2 separate regions of the Homo sapiens genome follow, and region 1 is linked to region 2. The links are contacts of gene promoters, found by promoter capture Hi-C in human tissues and cell types (Jung and others, 2019). All regions are on one chromosome and are shown on one strand. Each heading gives the region's core, a stretch centred on a gene start or on the middle of the fragment in contact. The rest is flanking DNA. Distances are from core to core; before and after follow the strand shown. Region 1 overlaps TNRC6C (trinucleotide repeat containing adaptor 6C). Region 2 holds the start of C17orf99 (chromosome 17 open reading frame 99).

Region 1 (3,255 bases), core at 429-2,928, 56 kb after region 2:
ACTGAATTTCCTTTGCTGTTTATTCTACCAGGAAGTTCAGAGTTAAATTTAATGCTTGAGAGTGAGATTACCTCCTATGGTTATCATTTTTGCTTCCACCTTACTCGTGTGTCCATCAGTAAAGAGTTCCCGATGGGGACACCAGTTTGGAGTAAGACAGACTGCTTGGATGGAGGGGAATAACCAACAGAAATGCACCCTAGTATTTACAGCTGCAGTTCCCATACATACTGTATATTTGATTTTCTATTTATGTTTTACCATTTTATTGAAAACATTTCAGCAGACTCAAGTTTTTGTTGATGAATATAGATACATAAAAAAAGTACACAGGCTATGACCTAGATTCTTTGCTGCTCTGGGGTTTTCAAATTATTTCTAAGTTTGTAGCTAAGATCTAATGGTTGGGTTTTAAGAAGTTTGATCAGTGACTAGCTGAGATCTTATATGCACTATAATGGAATGGGTTATTTTAAATCCAACTTTCAGTGCTCAATTCTTAGAAAAGTATAGAATGGCCATGCTATACAACAGGACGATCGATTAATAAGCCAGCAGTGATCCCACCACAGGCATCCTAGCTCAGACGTACCATGCTTGCTAGGGTTCTGCTCCAGGGGGGAAGCGGCACTGGGCAAGTTATCCATGGAGTTGGGGTGCGTCCACTGGGGGAGGCGTGACTGGGACTGGGATGGGTCCTTCACCGACAAGCCACCGGTCATGTCCATGCTGTTGACATTCATGTTTGGGTTCAGTCCAGCTAAAGAGAGAGATGCGGTTAGGATTCGCCTGCTCCTCTAAATGACTTCATTCTAAAGCTCTCCTATAGAAGCTATTTCAGTCTTCGCTTACAGCAAATTTTTTTTTTTTTTTGAGACGGAGTCTTGCTCTTGATGCCCAGGCTGGAGTGCAATGGCACAATCTTGGCTCATTGCAACCTCCGCCTCCCAGGTTCAAGCGATTCTCCTGCCTCAGCCTCCCAAGTAGCTGGGATACAGCAAAATATTTTAACTATAACTTTTAGTGCTGGTGAAAAAATACTACTTATCGTCATAACAACATGTATTTCTAGGAATATTATTCCTAAATTAAGGTGAAAATGTGAATAGTCTTTGATTAAGTAAGGCCCACAATTCTCTTCATTTTACTTGTTTCAGTGCTGAATAAACATGGTCCTGAGGCTTCTCAGAGTCCACAGGAAAATAGAAAAAGTCCAAACTATTAGGAAAATCTTTCTTTGTTTTGGGATATCTTACGGAAACTCATCAGGTCAAAAACACTTTTCCAGAACTCTAAAGTACCACCTATGAAACAGACTGATAGGATAATTCAGTTCTACCTTTAGTGAGTTTCCTTTACAAAAGTCTGCTCTGAAAGAGTCTGTGAATTAAGTATCAAACTACTTTTAAGGAACTGAACTATTTGACAGCGGGGGTGCTGCCATCTGCCCCCAGCTGGGATGGTGAGCTGAGGCTTCTGGGCTCATTCCTTATAGCTAAAAGCAGGTACCTGGTTATTTGTCCAGGACCTGCACTAAGCTAGGTTAATAAAGAAAGATGATGAGGAGGACAATGAAAAGAAGGTTGAAGTAAAGAGTTTCTGATGAGGACACTAGTTTGGAGCAGGACAGACTGCTTGTTTGGAAGGGAATAACCAGCACAAGCGCCCCCCTCCCCTTGTATTTCCAGCTGCAGTTCCCCTTACCACATACACATACCCCATAGGTCCTTACCGTAAGTACTACGCCACACGGTACGTAAGCACAGTGAGCCTCTACTACTTAGCCAGGTGCTGAACATTCTGGTTCTTACCTTTATTTCAGAGGCTGCAAATTCAAATGCCCATAGGAGCCAGGTGGGCCATGCACATGAAGAAGTGGGCTTCATGGGGACTGTGGCAAACCAGAGAGTGTCTGTCCTGTCTAAATAAACAGGTGCTACTGGGGCCAACCACCTATTGCTACCTGGAACATAGACCCACTATAGCCATTTTTAAGAGAAGCCAGAAGCCACTTTCCCCAATTTTTGAATGTTGGCATTAACACACACCTATGCACATGCACACACACACTTCGCAGACCTAACAAAACGCCTTTGCAAGCCCATCAGTGCCACAGGGCTGCCTACTTGCAATCTCTGCTGTGTGGGTTCTTTTCGTTTCAGCTTGTACAGATCTAGCCAGGTAAGGTGGCAACAATGTCAGGGCTTCAACCTGGCCTTCAGAATGCTCCAAATTTCACAATTTGGCGCCAACCCATCTCTCCCAACTTTCCCCTCTGGGAAAGTCAGCTAGACTGGCCTGGCCCTTGCAAAATGGGCCCCTGAAACAAGCCAGGCCTCTTTCTTCTGTGCTACGTGAGGCTTCCCCTTTATTTGGAAAGGCTTCCTCTTTATTTACTGTAATCCTATCCAATCATTTGAGGTTCAAGCTTAATCCTACTCTCTGATTTTTCTTTCACCACTCAAAGTGAAAGTGAACTTTTCCTTCTCTAGAGCCCTGTAAGAATCACATGACACTGGTATCAAGGTTATTTTTTCCCATTTATATGCCTGCTCTTCCTATCTAGATGGCGAACTCCAGGTGGCAAAAGACTGAGAATAACAACGACAGGCTGAACATGAGGGAAGGAAGGTAGCTAGGAGCCCCCACTACTGACCATGGGCTGCTGGTTTCTTTACATGAATTGATGAGTGTCTAACAGGCTCTTCAACATAGGTGCTGCTGCAGAGAAATGCTGAGAGCCAACAAGATAGGCAATTTTACAACCAAAGTTTCCTAGACTTTATTAGTTATTTGCTTTTAATACATTTATAACTTTACTGTGAATATTATAAAATATTATCCAAATTATTTTTCAACTAATTTCAAAGATTCACTGCATGAATTCTTTAACTTGTACTAAGAGAAAAAATCCTTAAGAGTAAAGATAAGTGGTCGGGCACGGTGGCTCACGCCTGTAATCCCAACACTTTGGGAGGCTTAGGTGAGCGGATCACTTGAGGTCAGGAGTTTGAGACCAGCCTGGCCAACATGGTGAAACCCAGTCTCTACTAAAAATACAAAAATTAGCCAGGCGTGGTGATGCATGCCTGTAATCCCATCAATTTGGGAGGCTGAGGCAGGAGAATTGCTTGAATCCAGAAGGTGGAGGTTGCAGTGAGCCGAGACTGCGCCATCGCACTCCAGCCTGGGCAACAGAGCAAGACTCTATCTCAAAAAAAAAAAAAAAAAAAAAAAAAAGTAACGATAAGTGTA
Region 2 (3,090 bases), core at 134-2,633:
TGGTTCAACCTGGGCCTCATTCAAGTGAGAATGGCGTCATCATTACCCTGTACCTGCCCTTTAGCAAAATAGAGGGGGAAGGCCCTGCTCTGTAACCTGATGGCCTAGCAACAAGGGGCAAGGGTTAGTTGGGACAATATAGGGAGGTGACTGTCCATCCTCACCTTAATGGACATGAGGGGAGGGGAGGGAAGGATGGGGCAAGAAAGTGCAGGCAGAAAGATGGAGCAGGCAAAGATGAGGAAGCAGGCCAGGCTAGGGGCTGTCAGGGACCTTCCCCAGCGTCCCCTCCTCCCTGGTCCTGTACCCAGCTGGGTCCCAGACACTCTCCACTCCCCACCTGCCTCTATAAGGAAGGCAGCCTCGTGTATGTCAGGCCCCTGGGGGAGCCTTAACTTCACCATCCTCTCACGGCCCTCCTCCTGGTCAGAGAATCCCAACCTCCCAGGCCCCACCAGAATTCCCCAGCCCTCCACGGGGCCTCGCCCACCGGGCAGAGCTGTGAGGGTCTCAGGGGGGGCTTCTGCTCCCGATCAGGGACCTGGGGCAGAGTGATGAGGATGCACCTGCCCAGGGAATCTTCCCTCCAAACAGCCCAGCCAAAGGCTGGAAGCTGAGCAACTTCCCTGCCTGTGTGCCCCGGAGGTCCCCACACTGGCCTGCTTGGCCTGCCCATCTCCATCACTCCTAGGGCCCTGCAGGGTGAAGAGAGTGTTCCAGAACTGTCCAGCCATCCTCCAGCACACACCTCCCCACTAGTAACTCCCTTCCCAGCCGAGGCGCCCTCCACCATGGGGGTTCTGACACCAGGGTCCCAGCTGGGGGACTTCTCCCTGCAGCAGGCTATGCCACTTACCTTCCTCCCGTGCCTTGGAGAAGCTGCTGGCAGCTGTAAGAGAGGTAAGGGCGATAAGGAGAGGGCCTGGTGTGGAGGGGAGACCAGAGACAGCCTCGAGACCCACCTGCTGAAGCCAGGAGGGAGGAGCAGGCTGATTCTTGGTAGTGAGGCCCCAGGACTCAGCTGGCACCATCACTCACAAAAGCTCTTTTGCGCCCCTCCCCCCACAACATCGCCTCTCATCCGCCCATTTCGCAGATGGGTAAGTAGTGAGCCCAGAATGGTGCAGAAATCCCTGGACCACATATACAGCAAGTTTAGGGGCTGGTCCGAGACTCAAGCCCAGATCTTTCCCTCTCTGTCCATGTTTCCAGAGGTGCCCTTCCTTCAGGCCTCATCTCTCCTGTGCTCCCAGTACCCCCACCTGAGCCCAAGACCTCAAGGCCCCAGCAGCAGCCCCACCATCACGTCCCTGGTGGACTCACCCAGCACGGCCAAGCAGAACAGCCCAGGGAGCCCCATGCCTCGGTGGGTGTAGGGCCTCTGCTCGGGCAGTGAGAACCTCCTAGTTCCTGGCCTCCCCCACCCTGAGGCCCCTGGGATGCTCCCTGGGTGGGTGCCTGCAGTGGGGAGATAACCTGGAGGCCGCAGCACCCCAGGGCCTCAGCTACCAGGGCGGGGCCCAGAGAGCCCCGGCAGGCCCGGTACAGCAAACTCCCCCTCAATCCCCAGAGAAGTGGAAGGAGTTTGGACCTTGAAGCCAGACCAGGGCTTAGACTCAGCAGTCACCTCTGAGCCGCAGGATCCCGGGCTCACGTGGTGGGCAGAAGGTGTCCATGCTCCGCGGGGCACAGTGGCTCACACCTGTAATCCCAGCACTTTGGGAGGCCTGGATGGGCGGATCACCTGAGGTCAGGAGTTCGAGACCAGCCTGGCCAACATGGCGAAACTCCATCTCTACTAAAAATCAGCCGGGCGTGGTGGCGTGCGCCTGTAATCCCAGCTACTCGGGAGACTGAGGCAGGAGAATTGCTTGAACCCAGGAGGCGGAGGTTGCAGTGAGCCAAGATCACGCTACTGCACTCCAGCCTGGGCAACAGAGTGAGATTCCATCTCAAAAAAAAAAAAAAAAAAAAAGATGTCCACGCTGTAACTTCTGGAGCCCGTGAGCACCATGCTACGCGGCAAGGGGAATGAAGGCTGTGAGTCTTCTCATTTTGAGAGGAGGAGCCCGTCCTACATGACCCAGGTGACCCTCATGTAATCACTGGGGCCTTTCCAAGCAGCTGGGGACCTGCTGGGCTGAGAAAAGGCAGCCCCACCCATGATGGTTCACAGCCGGGAGGCCAAGGCTGCACCCAGCCCCAGAATGAAACCCCAGACCGACGAGGCCCCTGGTCCTGGAGTGTGATGGGTCCTGGAGTCCTGGGTCCCGGAGCGTGGTGTGCCCAAGCACCGCCCTTCAGAAGTCCCTCAGGCCCCACTGAGGGTGGTGGGAGGTCACATGGATGGTCATTCCCCAGGGAACTGGCCCCAGTGCTGGCCTTGGCCAGCAGCAGACCCAGCTGCATCGCAGGCAGTGTGTGTGCAGAGTTCAGCCACAGAGCCTCCTGCACATGCAGGGAGGGTGGGGGTGAGCAGGGCCTCCCAGAGCCCCGAGGCCAGGGCTGGGGCCAGGCATTCCCCGGAACACAGAGAGATGTAAGGGCGCAAGGGATTGAGGCTGGGGCCCTGCCAGCTCCGCTGTGGGCCACTGCACCCGGCTTTGTGCCCAAGCTCAGCCTGGGGCTGCTGGACCAGCCTGTCACTTTCTGGCCCGGCTCAGTTTCCCACACTTTGTGTGGGGAATGCCTTTTCTGGCTGCCTCCTTCAGGAATATGTCCCCTGCCACCAGGTGACCATTGCCTCCTGTGGGAGCTGCTGCCACCTGTGGCTCCTGACCGGTCAATCACACTCTCTGCCCCTGGGCACCGTCCAGGAGTGAACACCTGACCAAGGGAGGCCACTCACAGCCCCGGCCCAGCTCTCCTCTCAGCCTTTCCCAGGCACTTGCTGCACCGGAGGCCTGGGTGTGTTGGGAAGCTGGTCTGAGGGAGTGGCCCTGCTGACCAGGGAGTGGCCAGAAGGATGGTGGGGAGGCAGGTGCAGGTGTCCTGGAGGTCACTGCAGACTGGCTCTGTTGACCCCTCGGTGGCCCCCTCTCCCAGCTGGCATGAGTCCGTTTCTGCACCTTGCTACCCATGGTCCCGGGG

What was found. The method cuts DNA at HindIII sites, captures the fragments that hold promoters and counts their contacts. A contact is called where the count stands out against the background at its distance.
Region 1: a fragment that was not itself captured here is called in contact with the fragment with the promoter of C17orf99 in region 2 in 1 of the 25 tissues and cell types used here (spleen).

The regions. Positions count from the first base shown.
Region 1 is chr17:78,088,945-78,092,199 of GRCh38, reverse strand. TNRC6C (trinucleotide repeat containing adaptor 6C) reads right to left here. Exons shown (of 23, transcript NM_001142640.2): 16 at 593-760. Among named protein-coding and RNA genes, the nearest start is that of TMC6, 38 kb to the left of the region's middle. The HindIII fragment of the contact is 5,688 bases long and covers 1-3,255 here.
Region 2 is chr17:78,144,678-78,147,767 of GRCh38, reverse strand. It overlaps C17orf99 (chromosome 17 open reading frame 99), which reads right to left and starts at 1,383. Exons shown (of 5, transcript NM_001163075.2): 1 at 1,324-1,383; 2 at 857-889. The coding sequence starts at 1,360. RefSeq lists an enhancer at 141-360. The HindIII fragment of the contact is 10,351 bases long and covers 1-3,090 here.